Regions from separate parts of the Homo sapiens genome. Here regions 1, 2, 3, 5 and 6 are each linked to region 4. The links are contacts of gene promoters, found by promoter capture Hi-C in blood cells and fetal thymus (Javierre and others, 2016). All regions are on one chromosome and are shown on one strand. The core of a region is centred on a gene start or on the middle of the fragment in contact, and the rest is flanking DNA. Distances in the headings are between cores, read along the strand shown. Region 1 overlaps TOX2 (TOX high mobility group box family member 2). Region 2 overlaps TOX2 (TOX high mobility group box family member 2). Region 3 has its middle 97 kb from the start of JPH2. Region 4 holds the start of MYBL2 (MYB proto-oncogene like 2). Region 5 overlaps JPH2 (junctophilin 2). Region 6 overlaps JPH2 (junctophilin 2).

Region 1 (3,108 bases), core at 158-2,657, 400 kb after region 4:
GCATTCCCCCTGAGAACTAGAACAAGACAAGGATGCCCATTTATTCGATGCAGTACTGGAAGTCCTGGCCAGAGCAATCAGACAAGAGAAAGAAATAAAGGGCACCAAATCAGTAAAGAGGAAGTCAAACTGTCACTGTTTGCTGATGGGATTATCATATACCTAGAAAACCCTAAAGACTCATCCAAAAAGCTCCTAGAACTGGTAAATGAATTCAGCAAAGTTTCAAGATACAAAATTAATGTACACAAATCAATAGATCTGCTATACACCAACAGTGACCAAGCTGAGAATCACATCAAGAACTCAACCCCCTTTAACTGCAAAATAAATAAATAAATAAATAAATAAATAAATAAATAAATGAATAAATAAAATACTTAGGAATATACCTAACCAAGGAGGTGGAAGACCTCTACAAGGAAAACTACAAAACACTGCTGAAAGAAATCGTAGATGAAACAAATGGAAACACATCCCATGCTCATGGATGGGTAGAATCAATAGTGTGAAAATGACCATACTGCCAAAAGCAATCTATAAATTAAATGCAATTCCCATCAAAACACCACCAACATTCTTCACAGAACTAGAAAAAACAATCCTAAAATTCATGTGGAATCAAAAAAGAGCCCTCATAGCCAAAGCATGACTAAGCAAAAAGAACAAATCTGGAGGCATCACATTACCCGACTTCAAACTATATGGCCATAGTCACCAAAACAGCATGGTACTGGTATAAAAATAGGCATATAGACCATGGAAAAGATTAGAGAACCCAGATATAAAGCCAAATCCTTACAACCAACTGATCTTTAACAAAGCAAACAATAACATGAAGTGGGGAAAGGACACCTTATTCAACAAATGGTGCTTGGATAATTGGCAAGCCACATGTAGAAGAGTGAAACTGGATCCTCATCTCTCACCTTATACAAAAATCAACTCAAAATGGATGGAAGACTTAAATCTAAGACCTGAAACCCTAAAAATTCTAGAAGATAACACTGGAAAAACCCTTCCACAGACATTGGCTTAGGCAAAGACTTCATGACCAAGAACCCAAAAGCAAATGCAACAAAAACAAAGGTAAATAGATGGGACTTAATTAAACTAAAAAGCTGCACAGCAAAAGAACCAGCAGGGTAAACAGACAACCCACAGAGTGGGAGAAAATCTTCACAATCTATACTTTCGACAAAGGACTAATATCCAGAATCTACAAAGGAACTCAAATCAGCAAGAAAAAAACAATCCCATCAAAAATTGGGCTAAGGAGATGAATAGAGAATTCTCAAAAGAAAATATACAAATGGCCAACAAACATATTAAAAAATACTTAACATCATTATGATCAGGGAAATGCAAATCAAAACCACCTTACTCCTGCAAGAATGTCCATAATCAAAAAATAGATGTTGGCATGGATGTGGCAAAAAGGGAACACTTTTACACTGTTGGTGGGAATATAAACTAGTACATCCACTGTGAAAAACAGTGTGGAAATTCCCCAAAGAACTAAAAGTAGATCTACTGTTTGACCCAGCAATCCCACTGCTTGGTATCCACCCAGAGGAGAAGAAATTTTACAAAAAAGATACTTGCACATGTTTGTAGCAGCCCAATTTGCAATTGCAAAAATATGGAACCAGCCCAAATGCCCATCAATCAATGAGTAAAGAAAATGTGCTACATATATATACACACATATATATGTACACACACACACATATACATATATATGTACACACACACACACACAAACACCATGAAATACTACTCAGCCATAAAAAGGAAGGAAATAATGGCATTTGCAGCAACCTGGATGGAATTGGAGACAATTATTCTAAGTGAAGTAACTCAGGAATGGAAAACCAAACATTGTATGTTCTCATAAGTGGGAACTAAGCTATGAGGACACAAAGGCATAAGAATGATACAATGGACTTTGGGGACTTGGGGAAAAGGATGGTAGTGAAGGATAAAAGACTATCATCAGGTACAGTGTACACTGCTCAGGTGGTAGGTTCACCAACATCTCAGAAATCACCATTAAAGAACTTATTCATATACAAAAAAAATTTTTAAATAAGAGTTCCAAGAGTAGCAAGAGGGCTCACCAATATGTGATCACTTTGTCAGTCTCTGCATGCATCACATTTGTGCTTGTCTTATTGGCCAACACAAGTCACACAAGGCTAAGCTCCAAGTCATTTGCACCTCCTCGTTTCTACCAAAAGCCATGGAAACAAGGAGGTGCGAACAAACTGGGACCAGTCCTACAATAACATATGAACCTAGGTCTAAAATTTTTAATAAAAAATATTAGCAAACCGAATCCAAACTAACATACTATGAACAAGTAGGTTCATTCTAGGTTGCGAAGGTGGTTCGGCATTAAGAAATCTGCACTGTGCTGGCTCAGAATGGGGGCTTCAAAGGGCATTGTCTTTCTGTGATCAGTTGTGCTGATAGAACCTGGAGGCCCAGAGAGATGAAGCATGTTGGCCAAGGCCACACAGTGACTTGGCTGAGGAACTGGGATATGGCCTGGTCTCCACAATTTCTCTGCAGCGCTCCCAGAAAGGGGCCAGTGGCTGGCTGACTCAGCTTCTGACCCCACCACCCTCGTCCATTCGTGATCCTTGAATCCATGCCTTCCCACCCCAGGACCCTGCACGGCATCTCCTCTGTAACTTTCTCCCCAGTGTTGCTCATGTGTTGACTCTTCCAGGCCTACAAGAGGAAGACAGAAGCAGCAAAGAAGGAATATCTGAAGGCCCTGGCAGCCTACCGGGCTAGCCTCGTCTCCAAGGTAACACCCGGAATCTCCAGGCACAGCCCTGATCAGAGTGGGGCCACTTGAGGAATGGAGCAAGAACTGGGGCCCGTGGGAAGGGCCGGCACCCCAGGTCTTAGAAAGAATGGCTCAGACCTACATGGTCATGTCTGCAGGGCACCTACAGCATGCCAGGCTCATTCTGGGCACTTTACATGCATTTCATTGGCTTCTTCCAACAAGAACCCAGCACCCAGAGGGGTTGAGCAACTTGCCTGAAAAGATCCAGTTTGTTAAAGTGGCCGCACTAGGATTCAAACCCAGTTTTG
Region 2 (3,425 bases), core at 276-2,775, 330 kb after region 4:
CACCATCCAGGCTGGCCATAGCGATGAGGGGGTGTCATAGGAGGTGAGACTGGAAGGAGACTGGGCCGGATCATGCAGGACTTTGCAGGCTACAGAGAGGGTTTCACACACACTGTATCCTGAGCGTAGAGGACATCAGCTAATGGGAGTATCACCATCAGTTTTGTGTGTGGAACCTCTACCCTGGCTGCTATGGAGAACAATTTGGAAGGAAAGAGATTAGAAGTTAGGAGATCATTGAGGAGGTGATTACAGCAGTCCTTGTGGGAGGTGATGACCGCTTGGACTAGGATGGTTGCTCTGCAGATGGATTGTGGTGGGAAGATTTGAGATACATGGGGAGGTGGGGCTGACAGGACTTTGTGATTGATTGGAGATGGGGATGAGAGAGGGAGGAATTGAACATCTCTCCCAGGTACCCAGCTTGAGCCACCGGTAGAGGAATACTGAGGGGGAAATGGACTTGGTGGGTACAAGGATGACCACAAGCTCAGTTCTGGACGTGTCAAAGAAATCATGGCCCTTGGACCAAATCTGACCCTCCACCTGTTTTGTGTAAATAAAGCTTTACTGGAACATGGGATCCTCCTAAGTTTAAATATTGCCTGTGGCTACTTTCATGCTATAGCAATAGAGTTGAATAGTTCTGACAGAGACCATATGACTCACAAAGCCAAAAATACATATTATCTGCAGAAAAAGTTTGCTGGGCTTTTGTGTAGGACATCCAAGGGAAGTAAAGTATCAAAGAGGCAGTTGGATATGTAGCTATAAAAATGTAATTTGAGGCTGGGCACAGTAGCTCACGCGTGTAATCCCAGCACTTCGGAATGGAAAGCAGGGAGGATTGCTTGAGGCCAGGAGTTTGAGACCAGTCTGGGCAATATAGCAAGACCCGGTCTCTACAAAAAAATAAAAAATAGTAGGACATGGTGGCACACGCCTGTAGTCCCAGCTCCTTGGGTGTCTCAGGTGGAAGATCGCTTGAATCCGGGAGATTGAGGCTGCAGTGAGCTGTGATCATGCCACTGTGCTCCAGCCTGGGCAACAGAGCAAGACCCTGTCTCGAAAAAGAAAATTCAATTAAAAAAACAAAAACAGTTTGGCACGGTGGCTCATGCCTATACTCCCAGCACTTTGGGAGGCCAAGGTGGGTAGATCGCTTGAGCTCAGGAGTTTGAGACCAGCCTGGGCAGCATGGCAAAAACCCATCTCTACAAAAAAAATTAACCAGGTGTGTTGGCTCGTGCCTGTAGTCCCAGCTATTCAGGAGGCTGAGGTGGGAGGATAGCTTGAGCCCAGGAGTCAGAGGCTGCAGTGAGCCAAGATCATGCTATTGCACTCTAGCCTGGGTGACAGAGCCAGACCCTGTCTCCAAAAAAAAAAAAAAAGACTACCACTTATTGGAAAACTGAGCTTCCTTATCTGTAAAATGGGGCCAGTGCCTGCTTCAGGCTGCCTCTTCTCATTCAGATGCTGTTGCCCACAAGTTATCCCCAGCCTTGCGACTTTTGCTACTTAAGTTCTGCTGGGACTGCTGCTTCCTAAAGAAAAGGACCCCCAAACCCACCCACCAATCATGTATCTTTCCAGAGCCTCCCCGTCCCTGCCCGGTGAATCACCCAGGATGCTGCTGAAACCTTAGCTTGAGTCAGATTGTGTCCTGAGCGAGAACACATGGGGATTATCATGTTTGTTCCCAGATAGGGTTTTAGTCAACAAAACTCCTGTCTAATGTGACTGCCTGTCATTGTCCCACTATGATGCCTCTGTCTGCCCTGATCCAAGCATTTCGGGGTCAGGAACAGCCACAGAGCAGCCGTGGCTGGCAGCGTGGCACACTGCCGGTGGGAGGGTGTTAGATGCACTCCTGTGTGAGTGGCCTGGCTCGGCTTGGAGGTTCTGCCTGTAGATAAAGGCTGAGAAAAGATATTACATTCCCCTCCCCCACCTCCTCCAGAATCCACGCTTCATTTTACCGGTATGGCTTTTCTCTCCTGTTTGGCTTATATATGGTATGGACTTTTAGTTTTTTATTTTTTAAGAAGCATTTTTAGTCCAGGAAAATGACAGGCCAAGCAAAAGGCATAATTGTCCTGATTTTCAGAAGTGCTACAATACTCCAGATCTGATGTATGGTGAGACTCGAATCAGAAAGATTCTATTAAACATGTCTGGGGTGGGTGACATAGGGGTATTATCTGAGATGATTAATTTGACTCGGTCATTATGGACACAGACAAGCCTGACAAAATTGCATTTCATTCCCCGCAGAATTCATAAAATCACTATACCCGTGATAAGAAGTTACAGTGCTAGGAGCTCAGCTCCAGTTGTTGGGGTTTGGAGTTTTGATAAGATGTCATTTTCTGTTGTGAAAACAGAGTTGAGAAACACTGAATCGCACTACAGTCTTTTAGCAGAGATGGCTTTTTTTAAACTTTTATTTTAGGTTCAGGGGTACGTGTGAAGGTTTGTTATATAGGTAAGCTTGTGTCGTGGGGATTTGATGTACGGATTATTTTGTCACCCAGGTATTCAGCCTAGTACCCATTAGTTATTTTTTCTGCTCCTCTCCCTCCTCCCACCCTCAAGTAGAACCCAGTGTCTGTTTTTCCTTTTCTTGTGTTGATGAGTTCTTATCACTTAGCTCTCACTTGTGAGTGAGAACATGTGGTATTTGCTTTTCTGTTCCTGCATTAGTTTACTAAGGATAATGGCCTCCAGCTCCATCCATGTTCCTACAGAAGACATGATGTCATTCTTTTTTATGACTGCATAGTATTCCATGGTGTATATGTACCACATACAACATTTTCTTTATCCAATCTGTCCTTGATGGTCATTCAGGTTGATTCCATGTTTGTTGTGAATAGTCCTGCAATGAACATTTGTGTACACATGTCTTTATGGAAGAATGATTTATATTCTTCTGGGTATATATCCAGTAATGGGATTGCTGGGTTGAATGGTAGTTCTGCTTTTTGTTCTTTGAGTGATTGCTATATTGCTTTCCACAATGGTTGAACTAATTTACACTCCTACCAACAGTGTAAGTGTTACCTTTTCTCTGCAACCTTGCCAGGATCTGTTATTTTTTGGCTTTTTCATAATAGCTATTCTGACTGGTGTGAGATGGTATCTCATTATGGTTTTGATTTGCATTTCTCTAATGATCGGTGATGTTGTAGCTGAGATGTTCTTGCTGGTGCGGGTTTTACTTGTTAAAATGGCAAGATGGTAGGGCGACCATATAATTTACTGGCCAAACCAGGACACTGTTTAGAGTGAAATAAAACATTATTAACGTGACACTGGAACAAGAGGCGTGGAGCAGGCCTGCCCTGGCCTAGCCAGGACTCGTGTGTGTTGGGAGGAGCTTGAACAGTGGCAGAGCAAAGCTTTGGCTACTGGTAGGCAGGGCT
Region 3 (3,557 bases), core at 849-3,348, 420 kb after region 4:
TCTGTTGTCCCTTGCTGCCTGTCTGTAAGTAATAAACCCATTTCATTTCATGTAACTTGTGTACGTGGGTGTTCTATCTCACCAGATTCAGGCAAGCTGCTCACCAGCACACAGAAACTCTGCTCCACAACCTGGGATCTAGTTGAAACTCCGGCACTAGTGCCAATTTGAGAGGGCTCAATGTCTGGGTAAAAATACACTTCTACCCCTGTCCTTCAGTTTCCCCATCTATAAAAGAGATGGTATGCCTGTAATCCCAGCACCTTGGGAGGCCGAGGTGGATGGATCACTTGAGACCAGGAGTTCAGGACCAGCCTGGCCAACATGGCAAAACCTCATCCCTACTAAAAATACAAAAATTAGCCAGGTGTGGTAGTGCATGCCTGTGGTACAGGTAACCCATAAAGTCACTTCCAAACCTCACATTCTATAAAGCTGTGATTCCCAGAGGCTGAGAGCTCACCACCACCTTTTTTGTACTTTCATTTTAAATATTTAAATCTTCAATCCATTTGCGAGTGACTTTAGTGCAAAGTATGAGCCATGGATCTAAGTTTACTTTTTCCCCAAATGGTTGCCCAGTTGTCTCTTTGCTATGTATTAAAGGTTCCATTTCACCTTTTTGAGTGACACTCCTTTAATTAGAAAATTGGGTCCATTTCTGGATTTTAAAAATCTTATTCCATTGATCCATTGATTTTAGTGTAGATTTTTAATACAATGAAGTATTTTTGTGGGTGAAGCAACCTCTAGTTTCTTTCTGAAATATTTTAGATGTATAAACAGTACAGAGAGAATATAACTAGCACCTAGGCAACCTCCACCAATCTTAAACTTCAGTCAGAACTCAACTCCCCACACACAGTTATAGTCAAAGTTCCCATGTGCTTCATTCTGCCAGTTTCCATCCTCCTCTGAAAGTAGCTGCTTCGAGTTTGTTTTTTTAATCATTTCCATTATTTAAACACAAATGTAAATATCCACGATATATAATATTGCTTTATGTGTTTTAGAATTTTATGTAAATTTCTCATACTATAAATATCATTTTCCACTTACAGGTTTTTGAGATATATGTAATGTTGGTATATGTAGCTTCTTATTCTCATGGCTCTAAGAATTAAATGAGATAATCCTTGTATGCAATTAGAAGTGTCTGGAATGTGATAAACAAGGTTAGCTGTCATTATCAATGTCACTAATCATTATTTTTATTATCACCATTCCCACCAAAGGGATCAGAGGTTCACACATGACATTGTTGAGGAGCAGCAAAATGGAGCCACGATTTCTTTTAGGATAACAGGAGCCATTTTCCCTGCTCTGAGGTATGTTTGGATGGAAACATTGGGCTCCTTGTCAGCTGTTCCCTGGTGCTGTGCACAGCTTGCAGGAACGGCTCTGATTTTGTTTAATGACTCTGACAAGAACGCCAGACTTGGCCATGTGACTTGCTCTAGCCAATGAGACAGCAGCAAACATTATGCAAGCAGAAACTTGAAAAGTGCTTGCTCATTGGCCTTGCCCTCTCACTGCTCTTGGTCAGACCCATCACCATGAGAACAAGCCCATGCTAGCCTGTTGGATGATGAGAGACCCTGCAGAGAAAAGGAAGGTGCCCCAGCTGACATCAGAAAGCCCTGTGCCCATCCAGCAGCCAACTTCAGATGTACGAGTGAGTTCCAGCTGAGATAAACCAAACTTGGCGAAATCGCAGAACTGCCCACATGAACCTACCCCAAACTGCCATCCCACAGAGCTGTGAGCTCAATAAATAGTTGTTGTATTAAGTCACAGAGTCTGGGGTGGTTTGTTGTGCTGCATAAGCTAGCTGATACACCTGGTTATCTGACATCTCCAGCAATTACTGACCTGTATTTGCAGACTTAACTCTTGGTTACATGACCAGAAAACAATATTCCACGTGCATGAACCACAATCCACAAGAGACAGGCTCCCTTTCAGAAACATCAAACGATGTTCAACATTTGGCAGGTCTGAAAAGCTCTCATCCATACCATGAGTGTATAAAACATGCCTTGACCCATGATAATCACCAAGGGGCACTTTCTGGGGGTTGGTGCTATCCCCCCCAAATAGCAGACTCTTCCCAAGGGAATCACAGGTGATGTATAGGTGTTTCTAACTGGTCCTAATCCCAAATCCATGTCTGAAACCTCACCTTATACCTACATATTAACTTCATGGGTGCAAACACCACACCTGGTCATACCAGAAACCAGAGTTCCCAAAAAGGGTAAATGTCCTTCTGTACACAGCAAAGGCATGTTGGGCCATGCCTAGAGGAAAAGGAGGCAGAGGCTGCAGAGCTGGAAGCTCAGCTGTTTTGAGGCCCTGGGCTGACAGATCTTTGTCCACAGCCTTGCCAGGAAATGCCCCACAGTCCCACATTTGGAAGTGAACAAGCTGGAAGGGTGATTTTCCAACTGGACACAGCTGGTGACGATCAAGATAGTGACCCTGGATAACTGCCCTCAGACTCTGCAAGGCCAATTCTCACCATAGGTGGAGTTATTTGCCTGCATAAGCGATGGTCAGGCCCTCTCTCCTGCCCCCAGACACAGAGGAGGGACCATGCGCTTCCTGACATTGTGGCTTCAAATGCCACAACCACAAGGGCCATCCACTTAGGGACAACATTGGTGTCTGCCTCAGGAAGTCCCTTCCCACTCCACCTGCCTGGGAACACGCCCTCTGATGTGACAGCTTCTGGACTCATGTTATAAACAAGTCCTTTTTTAAGGGCCTGAAACATTGGAATAGAACCACCACCAACCCTGGAAAAAAAATGCAAATCCAAAATACCAAGTACTATACAAAGGTGCTCTAATTATTCTTGGTTCAAAATGATTCACAAGAGGAAAGGGAACCGACTCCGTATGTACGCGTGTCTATCTGAGAAAGAATAAGAGACGCTTTCTCTATGCGCATGCTTCCCAAAAATTAATGAATGAAATCTCTCATCCTAGTCCTTTACAGATTTATCTAAGGTTTCTTCCTGTGTTTGAATTCCTCTATTAGAAAAAAATTAATCAAAGCAATACATCCCTATGGCTAGAAATTAAATATTTACGGACCTATTATAGAAAGCAGTAATTTGCCACCCCCTCTCTCCACACCAACGCAACTCTCACAGTGTAATTCCTGATGACTACCTAGTATAACTCTAAGTAATATATTTATACCATTCTTTCTTGATTTATCAGCTCTGACATTACTTCTTCCCAAATTCCTCTAAAGGTTTTGAAAGATTACTTTGATTCCACCCCCCCCTTAGAAACATCACACCTTTAAACAATGCACTTAAACCTCAATTAATTGAGCTTTTCTATTATAACTTTTGTCTCCCTACTGCTATTGATGAACTTAACTCCCTTCTACCTCCCCACCCTTCTTTCATTTTATACCTTTCTATGTCTGTTAGCTGCATCATAACTTTCACCTGTAATTAACTCCTTAATTGCCAGGCACTATTCTCTGTACTGGGGATACAGCCTTCGAGAAGACAATAACATTCCTTCTGTCATGGAAATGAC
Region 4 (3,534 bases), core at 1,035-3,534:
AAGTGGGGGTTGCAGTGAGCCAAGATCACACCACTGCACTCCAGTCTGGGCAATAAAGCAAGACTTGGTCTAAAAAAAAAAAAAAAGTTAAGTAATTTGCCTAAGATACCGCAACTGAATGGTGGAGCTGGGACTCAAACCCCAGGAAGTTTGGCTGTGGAGGCTGTGCTTTCAATGAAGTGGGCATGTCCACATTAATTACTTTATAAGGGGAGTGGGCGGGAGAAACCCTGAATTAAGTGATGTGGAAGCTTCTAGCACTTAAGATGTGAGTTAGTCTTCCTTCTGTGGTAAGTGAAGTTTGCAGCAGCTGGTGGCTGGACTGTCCCCAGGTGGCCAGCAGCTTCTGGAAGGGGGCTCTGAGGCCTGAACAGGGGCTAAAAGGCTGGGGTTTGATTTGGTTTCTTCAGCGTCCTGTCTCAGAGCTCATTTATCTTCCTCTCAGCACTGCTCCCAGGAAGTCCAGTGTGACTTGATCCTTGGTACTTGGTAAATGTCAATCTAATATAGAAAACCTTTGCTAAATCTCAAGGAAAGACAGTCTCACTGTCTGTCGCCCAGGCTGGAGTGCAGTGGCGGGATGACAAGGGCTTGAGCCCCTCGAACTCCTGGGCTCAAGCAATCCTCCTGCCTCTGCTTCCCAAGTAGCTGGGATTACAGGCATTCACCACCACAGCCAGGTAATTTCTTAATTTTTTGTAAAGACAGGGTCTCACTCTGATCCCCAGGCTGGTCTCAAACTTTTGGACTGAATCAGTTCTCCCACCTCGGCCTCCCAAACTGCTAGGATTACTGGCATGAGCCACTAAATCTGGGCTAATCTCTGGGAGTTTAAACCCAAGGTAAACAATTCAATGCAACAAACCTTTGCCTGGGGCTTCTTATGTCAGGTCTTCTACTGGGCCCTGGAGATACTGGTGTGCATTGAGAGGCCACCTGGACCTCAGGATGCTCCCAGTTCAAAGGGGGAAATGCAGAAGTCTACAGGCAGATTGTGGGCAGTGGACCCCAAATTAAATAGGAATCAGCCACGTGGGAGGGGCAGGAAGTGTTCCTGCCCTGGGTAATGGCTCAGGCAAAGGCAAAGAGGCCGTTTCTTTTGGCCAGGGCTGGGTGGTGGTCTGGAAGATCAGATAAATGTGATTGTGGAGTAAGGAATTTACCCTGAGGGAGAGGAGGATGGTTTTAAATTCTGGAAAGAGCTCACGCCTGCAATCCCAGCACTTTGGGAGGACAAAGCGGCAGGATCTCTTGAGCCCAGGAGTTTCTAGACCAGTCTAGGCAACAGCAACATAGCAAGACACCCCCTTCTCTTAAAAAAAAAAAAAAAAGCGCAGTGGCTCACTCCTGTAATTCCAGCACTTTGGGAGGCCGAGGCGGGCGGATCACGAGGTCAGGAGACCTATACCATCCTGGCCAACATGGTGAAACCTCGTCTCTACTAAAATACTAAAAAAAAAAAAAAAAAAAAAAAAAAATTGCCGGGCGTGGTGGTGTGCGCCTGTAGTTCCAGCTACTTGGGAGGCTGAGGCGGGGGAGTCGCTTGAACCCGGGAGGTGGAGGTTGCAGTGAGTCAAGATCGCGCCACTGCACTCCAGCCTGGCGACAAAGCGAGACACCGTCTCAAAAAAAAAAAAAAAAAAAATCAGCCGGGTGTAGTGGCGAGTGCCTGGTCTTAGCTACCCGTGAGTTGAGGTAGGAGGATCGCTTGAGCCTAGGAGGTGGAGGTTGCAGTGAGCTATGATCGCGAAACTGCACTCCAGCCTGGGCGACAGAGCAAGACCCTGCCTCTAAGAAAAATGAACAACAAAAAATAAAGTCTATTAAGGAGGGTCTCTTGGAGGCAGGAGAGGAAGCAGGGAGAGGCACAGGTAGGGTGAGGAGCCGCTTTAGGGTGCGGCTCTAGGGACCCAGTAGTGGCTTGGACTAGCGTGGGGGATTCCGCCCTGGCGCTTTCCCTGGCTGGCTCTCCCATGCTCGCGCCTCGCTCCCCTTCCTCGGTCTTCGCTATGTGGGATACTCCTGGGCCGCCCCGGACTGACACGTGAGCCAGGCCTCGGTCACATCCCGGCCCGCTCCACAACTCCGAAGTAGCGGCCGCCGCCCCTGTCCTGCAGCCGGCCCTGGAGGGTCTGGGCAGGTGCCGCCCCGCAGGCCCCGCCCCGCCCCGCCCCCTGGCTCCGCCCCTCACTCAGGCCCCTCCCCCGGCGCCCGCGCGCCAGGACTGGGCGGCGCCGACGCGCTTGGCGGGAGATAGAAAAGTGCTTCAACCCGCGCCGGCGGCGACTGCAGTTCCTGCGAGCGAGGAGCGCGGGACCTGCTGACACGCTGACGCCTTCGAGCGCGGCCCGGGGCCCGGAGCGGCCGGAGCAGCCCGGGTCCTGACCCCGGCCCGGCTCCCGCTCCGGGCTCTGCCGGCGGGCGGGCGAGCGCGGCGCGGTCCGGGCCGGGGGGATGTCTCGGCGGACGCGCTGGTGAGACGAGCCGGGAGGGCTTGGGCCCCTCCCCCTCCCTTTAACTCACCCCTCCCCCACCCAGATACCCCCGACCCTCCCCAGGCTCCCACCAAGCTGGGGTGTGTGTGTGTGTTGGGGGTGGGGTGTTTCCGCGGAAATGCTGCGTCCTGGGCCCTCTGAGGCAGGGGCGCGCGTAAAGCTGGGGGGCTCTTGGGCGTCCCTCGCGGCTCCCCAGGCCTGTTGGGCCTCGGAGCTGGGACGGGCGGGTCTCTTGGGACCCGGGCCAAGCCGTGCATGATGTCATTTTGTCTCCCGCCTAATTGCGGGATGGGGGTGGGCCGGCCGGTGTCAGCTGGCAGGGCCTTCGCCGGCGAGGGAGGCGACCCCTGGGAGCGAGAGGGAGTCTTCAAGTCCCAGCCAGTGGGAGACCGAGCCTGGGAGGCACTTGTTGCAGCCTAGTTTTGGGTCAACTTGGTGGGTGGGCTTTGCTCCTTAACATTCCGGGGAGCACAGAGTCCCCCAAGCCCTCTCCCCTGGACTGAGAAGGGTGCTGAGTTGGGGGCTCTTTTGTCTCTCCCACCTGGGTTCCGCGCCCCAGCTTGGTTCGGTTTGAGACCTCTCTTCCTGTTCCCACGAGGAGTTTTGGGCAGCTGGGGTTGAAGGTGCGGGGGAGAGAGAGAGTCCCTGGGGCAAAGGCAGGAACTGCGGTCTCCATTTTACTTATTTCCCCAGAGACTTAAGTGGCAGAGCTGAGCCCGGAGCCAGGTCTGTGGCTCCAGATCCCTGTCTTACACCTGTGCGCCTGGGGCCTGAGCTCCAAGCTTTTCAGCCTGCCTGGGAGACAGGACAGTGGGGTCCTGACCTCTTCCCTGCCTGGATCGCTGCAGCTCAGATAACCTTCGTTCCCTCTTTTTTTTTTTTTTTTTTTTTTTTGAGAAGGAGTCTCGCTCTGATGCCCAGGCTGGAGTGCAGTGGCGCGATCTTGGCTCACTGCAACCTCCGCCTCCCAGGTTCAAGCGATTCTCCTGCCTCAGCTTCCCGAGTAGCTGGGACTTCAGGCACGTGTCACCACGTCGGG
Region 5 (3,454 bases), core at 616-3,115, 500 kb after region 4:
TGGGTCATGGGGGCAGATCCCTCATGAATAGATTAATGCCCTCCCTTGGGGGTGAGTGAGTTTCTGCTCTGTTAATTCCCACAAGAGCTGGTTGTTACAAAGAGCCTGGCACCTTTTCACTCTCACTCTTGCTTCCACTCTTGCCATGTGATCTCTGCACACACCAGCTCCCCTTCACCTTCTGCCATGAGTGGAAGCAGCCTGAGGCCCTTATCAGAGGTAGATGCTCCACCTTGAACTTTCCAGCCACCAGAATCGTTAATCAAATAAACCTTTTTTCTTTGTAAATTACCTGGCCTTGGGTATTTTTTTTTTTTTTTTTTTTTGAGATAGAGTCTTTCTCTGTTGCCCAGGCTGGAGTGCAGTAGTGTGATCTTGGCTCACTGCAACCACCGCCTCCTGGGTTTAAGCAATTCTCCTGCCTCAGCCTCCCAAGTAGCTGGGACTACAGGTTCCTGCCACCATGCCCAGCTAATTTTTTGTAGTTTTAGTAGAGACGGGGTTTTTCACTGTATTGGCCAGGCTAGTCTCGAACTCCTGACCTCATGATCCGCCTGCCTTGGCCTCCCAAAGTGCTGGGATTACAGGCATGAGCCACCACGCCTGGCCCTCAGGTATTCTTTTACAGCAACACAAAATTGACTAAGACACCAAGGAAAAGCTGGGAGATCCAGAATCCAGTTTGAGACATCAAAGAGACATATGGGCCAGACCAGGATTCTGCCTCCAAATACAGAATGGACACTGAGAACACCATCCCATCTGGCCAGTGACACCTTCCTATTTCCAGGGAACTATCTGAGGTTGGAAGATCAGTGTGCCTCGGTGCTACGGTTTAATGTTTGTCCCCCTAAAAAGCTCAAATTGAAACTTAATCCCCAATGTGGCAGTATTGAGAGGTGGGGCCTTTAAGAGGTGATTAATCCACTCATGGATTCATGGTTTAATTGGTTATGGGAGTGGGGCTGGTGGCTTTATAAGAAGAGGAAGAGAGATCTGAGCTAGCACACTCGGCCCTCTCATCACATGACACCCTGTGCCACCTTGGGACTCTGCAGAGAGTCTCCACCAGTAAGAATGCCACTCCTGATATGACCCCTTGACCTTGGACTGCCTAGCCTCCAGAACTCTAGGAAATACATTTTGTTTCTTATAAACTACACAGTTTCAGGTATTCTGTTATAAGTAACAGAAAGCAGACTAACACACTGGAGAACTGAACAGAGATGGAGAGAAGGAACGAGGACTAGCTCCTTTCTAGGAGTCCCCATTGCCTATAGAAGTCCTTACCTGATAGTCCAGTTCCTTCATGACCTGGTTCCAAGTCACTTTCTCAGCCTTGTCTTCCCAAATCCTTCATAGCCCAGTTTCAAACCACCTCCTTCAGGGAACCACCTTCCTTCCTCCAAATTCTCATTGCCCAAGACATTTATCACTTCTTACTTCCCATGGCAGCTCTCTTGTCTTTATCTTGCCTGTTTTGTCTACCAGCCATCGCTGATCCTTCTCCAAGTCCTCTCACATAGTACCAGATGTTGGCATAAGATCTTTGGGTGGCCCATAGAAGTGTCATCAACAAATTTCAGACAGTGTTTAAGATGGAGCATGGCAGATACAGAGTGAGCATCAGAGAGTCCAGGGGTTAATGGCTCTTGTCCAAGCATACCAAGATCAGACCAGGTGAACCAGAAATGCTCACTGTGGTCAGCACACATGCCCATGCCACAGACACCACACAGATGCTCCTGATTATAAGGGACTCATAGCTTGGCTCTAACCCACCTTGATAAAGACTATGGACCCAGCATCCCAGAGAAAGTAAGCCAGGGCTAAGACAGCTTTGGAGGTAGCAAAGAATAATGGAAATCACATGGTCTTCAGATAGACCTGACTCTGAATATCTCTTTAATTTTGCTCAATATATTGTTAAAATGAATAGATAAGAAAGTATCCTAACAGATACAGGCATCATCATTTCGATGTTACAATTGGAAAAACTGAAACTAAGAATTTAAATGACTCTCATGATGACGCACTGCGATACTCCTTAATTCTCTTGGTCTCCACCCTATCTGTCTAGTCCAAGCCACATCCTTTTCTCCCTCGATGATGACAGTAGTATCCTCCCTGCCCCCCACTTCAGTTGACCCTTTGCTGCTGCCACTCATCTTCTTCATAAGATGCAACTCTCAGCAGGTTACTCCCCATCTCAAAACCCTGCAGTAACTTCCCAGTGCCTTGAGGAGTGTCTCAGGTCAGGATCCCTAGGGAAAAGATTCTGAAGCTGAGATGATGTGTGGGAGATTTAGCGGGGAGTGCTCTCAGGAAGAGCACGTGTAAGGAAGGAAGCAGGATTTGGCAGTGGAGGAAGCTGAACATCTGCAACAGAATATTCAACTGATCCCAGGGGGATTTAAGCTGGTATAGCCCTTCAGCGTTGCCCAAAATCAAAGCAAGGGGGCCAGGTCATTACAGTCATTAGATGTGAAGGAGGCAGCTCCCTTTGTTGGAGAGAAATACCCAGCCAGGATCTGTCAGCTGCTAACACTCCTGGCAGCTCGGGGAATGTGTCCCTGGTCCTAAGGAGTGTCTGAAGGGGTAGCCTAGAATCTACTAGAAGGATGAAGTTCAAGCTCCTCACTGTGACCCACAAAACCCTCATGATCTGGGCTTTGCCAATCTCTCCAGCCTCGTCCACCCCACTCTCTCTCTCTGAGTCTGTGCTCCAGCCTTTTCTGGAACACAGCATGCTCAGGTCCCACCTCCAAGCCTTTGCATTTGCTGTCCCTTCTGCCTGCCTGTGCGGCCTCCCCTGTCACCCAGTTTACCTCTATTCATCCTGCATATCTCAGCTCAAACATCACTTCCTCAAGGACGCCTTCTCTGATTATCAGACCAGACCAGGTTTCCCTGTTATCAGTTCATAAATTCTTCTATTTTTCCTTCAAAATATGTATCACATTTTGTATTTAAGTAATTGTTAGATGCCGGTCTCTGCTGTTAAGATACATGCACTTGGGGGCAGGGACAGGTCTGACTCGCCCACCACAGCATCCCCAGCACTCCATGCAGGGACTCACACATGGAAGACATTCAACAGATACTGTCAAATGCATTAATAAGCACAGGCTTTGAATAAGGTCTCTTTGAGTCTGTCTCCTCTCAGTAAAGTGAGCATAGCAAGTTTCCTTTGCAAGGTTGCTGTATTACATGGTTTATCTAGCAGAGATCTCGGGCTCTCAACAAAGGTTGGCTCCTTTCACTTCATGGGAAAAGACTGTAGGGTGACCAGTCATCCCAGTTTGCCTATGTCTGAGAGGTTTCCTGGGATGTGGAACTTTCAGTGCTAATACCGGGCAGTTTCAGGCAAATTGAGATGGCTGATCACCCTAAATTGGGGTGAGAAGGAAAAAGGGGCATTTCATATTAGTACAATAGTCAGGATATAGTAGCA
Region 6 (3,226 bases), core at 366-2,865, 440 kb after region 4:
GGAACTTGTGCAGAGTAACTCCTCTTTTTAAAATCATCGATCTCATGAGACTTATTCACTACCACGAGAACGGCACGGGAAAGGCTTGCCCCCATGATTCAATTACCTCCCACTGGGTCCCTCCCACAACGTGTGGGTGGGAATTTAAGATGAGATTTGGGTGAGAACACAGCCAAACCATATCACCCAGTAACAGAGCAAGGGAGGGGTATAAAAGCCCAATGGGAGATGCTCTACAAGCAATCCTTGCTCTGGAGCTCCCACTGGGTTGGACTTTGTCAGGCCTGCATCAAGTTAGACTTCTTCCTCTGCCCTGTTCTGCATTTTCCTCCTTCCTTTCACAGGTTTTGATCCCTAATAAACATCTTGCAGCTTAGGTGACTCTCAGTGTCTGCTCCTGCAGAATCCAATCAGTGATGGCATCTTCCACATACAGCAAAGAAGTGATATAGCCAGGATTAGAAACTAGGTCTGTCCAATTCCAAAGCCCCAACCCATCCCCACTCCCCAACCATACTGCCTCTTATGGCCACCATATCCATTTCCTCAATAAGCACTCACTGAATGTCTACTCTGCCCCGAGACCTAAGTGGGACAATGGGGATGGTACTACAGGCTGTACTGTCTTGTCTGTTTACCAAAACCCACATCCTTCTCTTCTCCCTGAGGACACATGTAGTCCGTATTTCCCAGCCTCCCTTGAAGCTAGTTGAGGCCAAACAACTGAGCTCTGGCTAGTGGAATATGAGCAGAAGTGATGTGTGCTGTTTTCCTGGTGAAAGTTTTTAGGAAGCAAATTCCATCCTCCATACTCTCTTTCCTTTTCCTTTGGCAGATGCAGAGACCAAAAAAGCCCTAGGATATGTAGAACCACAGATGGAAAAAACCTGGGTCCCTGAATCATTATGATGAGGGACAGCTATTCTATGACAAACTTATATGGTGTATAGCAATTATAAACTGTGGAGTCAATTACCTCAGCCAAGCTTACACTAACTAATGCATGGATATAGAGATGAATCACAGATAGCCCCTCTCTTAAGGAACTCAGTCTAGTGGAGAAGCTGTGGATAGGAAGAGATACAGGGTTGTGTAGTTAGCAACTGGGCCTTGAGGGAGAGGTCTGATTTTTGTCCTGGCTCCTAGGAAGTAATTTCTAAACCCTTAGGATATCCTGATTAACAGGAGTGTCTTTGTTATTCATGGTGGGCTCCTGGGACCACAACTCACAGCTTATGCTAACCAGATGGCTTATAGTGAGTGCTGGCCATGCCAGAAAAATCAACCACAGGGTTAAAAGATTGGGGCTTTGGGCTATGTGATGTCAGCCTGACCTTTGGGTGTGGGGAGGGGTATGGAGGTTAAGTTCAACCATGTGGGAAATGATTCAATCAATCACCTCTACATAATGAAGTCCCAATAAAAACTCTGGACACTGAAGCACTGGTTAGCTTCCCTGGTTGGCCATACTTTGTCATACTGTTACTTATCAATGCTGGCAAGGTAACAGATACCGAGGACACGGGTGTTTAGCATTTGGAACCCTCCCAGATTCCTTCCTATGTCCCTTTCCCTTGGCTGGTTCTGATTCGCATTCTTTGCTTGTAATCAATGTGACTTGAGTAGAATAGCTTTCAGTGAGTTCTGTGAGTCTTTCTAGTGAATTATTGAGTATGAGGATAATCATAGGAACCCCCTTGTTTGTAGCCAGTCAGTATGAACTGATGGTGGCCCTGGAGATCCCCAAACTTGTATCTGGGGTCTGAAGGGAGAGGGGGAGATTGTTCCCTCAGACTTTGCTGACTTTACAGCCTCAAGATTGCTGACTTTACAGCCTCAAGATGTAAATAGCTTTAAAAGGTCACTAAGAAGTGACTGTATACCATTGCACTCCAGCCTGGGTGACAGAATGAGACTCTGTCTCAAAAAAAAAAAAAAAGAAAAGAGGAAGAAGAAGTGACTGTAATGTAGGCACCTGGTCAAGACAGCCTGGAGTGAATGGTGAATGTTCTGACACATGAGGTGCCCTGGCATCTGTTGCCGTACATGAGGGTCTCACCTGCAGTTGGTCTGTGGACAAAATATGACTCCCCGCTCAGTCCAGGCTCTGTCACTGACTTGCTGTGTGATCCTTACAAATCACGACACTCTCTCCAGACCTGTTTCCCCATATGAAAAACAGGGGGCCAGATGAGCTGATATCTTAGAGTGCCTCCATCTCTGACAACCTAAGGAGTTATTTCCTCAAGCTTCTTCAGAGAAGAAGGAAACTTCCTTCCCTGAACTCCTTCAGGAATTCTGAATCATCACATCCACTAATATCCAATAGACAAATGTCCCCTGCCACATCCCTGTTGACTAGCATCTCCCCTCAGCTGGCTCATCTGCAGTGATGGGAAGCTCACTCTTTCATGGTGGGAGCAGTGTGGTTCTGTAAAAGAGCACAGCTCTGGGTTTCAGTCCCAGCTCTGTCCTTCCCTCTCTGTGATACCTTGAACCAATCACTCCATCTCCCCAAGGCTCAATTTTCCTCATCTGCAAAATGGGTGGACGAATACCTACACCATGGAGATACTGCGAAGAATGGAAAATAGCAGTGCATTTACCATCTGCTCACACCATGCTGGGAATTGTTCTAAGTGCTGTGTTCATATTTTCTATCTGAAGAGGCAGGTAACATGGTATTCATCACCCCCAGAAAAGTAAGAAAGTTCTAGATGTTAAGGGACAGAGCCAAGATTTGAACCAGCAACCATGTTCTGAACCACACAGCTGTTCTGCCACCACATACAGGAGGTGAAGGGCTTAGCACAGGGCCTGACCTACGGCCACCTGACTCCATTGAGTGTACCAGCAAGACAGGCTGAGAGAGTGAGGGAGTGGGAACTGGCCTCCATAGGCATAGTCAGAGTTTTGCACAAAACAAGAACCTAAGAGCTATTTTAATTTCAGCATACATGCAAGTTTTATGTTTTACAGTTTAGGTATTATTTGTATTCTGAGTCACTTATTTGGGGGAGAGCATCTTCATATCAGTTTTTCAGGCATGGCACCTCCAAAGGTCATCATCTGGGCCTGCATCTCTCCCAGAACAGCCAGGTCTTCTGTGGGTCCATCAGATTATGAAACTTCCCTTCTTGCCCGAATCCCAAATCTGACTCCCACGGTTCCTAGGTCCCCTCCCTTTCACTGCCCTGGAAGAGTCCTGCAGAGACCTCAAGGCAGT

Evidence for each region. Contacts are between HindIII fragments. The CHiCAGO score rates a contact against its expected background, and 5 or more counts as called.
Region 1: a fragment that was not itself captured here is called in contact with the fragment with the promoter of MYBL2 in region 4 in 4 of 17 cell types (naive CD4 T cells, naive CD8 T cells, non-activated CD4 T cells and 1 more); the score reaches 7.3 in naive CD4 T cells.
Region 2: a contact is called between a fragment that was not itself captured here and the fragment with the promoter of MYBL2 in region 4, in 1 of 17 cell types (neutrophils). The highest score is 6.0, in neutrophils.
Region 3: a contact is called between a fragment that was not itself captured here and the fragment with the promoter of MYBL2 in region 4, in 13 of 17 cell types (monocytes, M0 macrophages, naive CD8 T cells and 10 more). The highest score is 10.1, in monocytes.
Region 5: a fragment that was not itself captured here is called in contact with the fragment with the promoter of MYBL2 in region 4 in 1 of 17 cell types (total CD4 T cells); the score reaches 5.1 in total CD4 T cells.
Region 6: a fragment that was not itself captured here is called in contact with the fragment with the promoter of MYBL2 in region 4 in 2 of 17 cell types (endothelial precursors and M1 macrophages); the score reaches 8.0 in endothelial precursors.

Annotation. Positions count from the first base shown.
Region 1 is chr20:44,062,043-44,065,150 of GRCh38, forward strand. It overlaps TOX2 (TOX high mobility group box family member 2), which reads left to right. Exons shown (of 9, transcript NM_001098797.2): 6 at 2,735-2,815. Among named protein-coding and RNA genes, the nearest start is that of JPH2, 120 kb to the right of the region's middle. The HindIII fragment of the contact is 7,560 bases long and covers 1-3,108 here.
Region 2 is chr20:43,993,084-43,996,508 of GRCh38, forward strand. The region is part of intron 2 of TOX2 (TOX high mobility group box family member 2); the gene reads left to right. Among named protein-coding and RNA genes, the nearest start is that of TOX2, 80 kb to the left of the region's middle. The HindIII fragment of the contact is 1,925 bases long and covers 564-2,488 here.
Region 3 is chr20:44,088,679-44,092,235 of GRCh38, forward strand. No RefSeq gene overlaps it. Among named protein-coding and RNA genes, the nearest start is that of JPH2, 97 kb to the right of the region's middle. RefSeq lists an enhancer at 1,311-1,605. The HindIII fragment of the contact is 7,388 bases long and covers 1-3,557 here.
Region 4 is chr20:43,664,830-43,668,363 of GRCh38, forward strand. It overlaps MYBL2 (MYB proto-oncogene like 2), which reads left to right and starts at 2,285. Exons shown (of 14, transcript NM_002466.4): 1 at 2,285-2,474. The coding sequence starts at 2,455. RefSeq lists silencers at 2,080-2,374, 2,111-2,490 and enhancers at 2,080-2,374, 3,141-3,190. The HindIII fragment of the contact is 3,026 bases long and covers 250-3,275 here.
Region 5 is chr20:44,168,869-44,172,322 of GRCh38, forward strand. All of the region lies in intron 1 of JPH2 (junctophilin 2), which reads right to left. Among named protein-coding and RNA genes, the nearest start is that of JPH2, 17 kb to the right of the region's middle. The HindIII fragment of the contact is 6,904 bases long and covers 1-3,454 here.
Region 6 is chr20:44,106,709-44,109,934 of GRCh38, forward strand. It overlaps JPH2 (junctophilin 2), which reads right to left. Exons shown (of 6, transcript NM_020433.5): 6 at 1-3,226. Among named protein-coding and RNA genes, the nearest start is that of JPH2, 79 kb to the right of the region's middle. The HindIII fragment of the contact is 1,263 bases long and covers 985-2,247 here.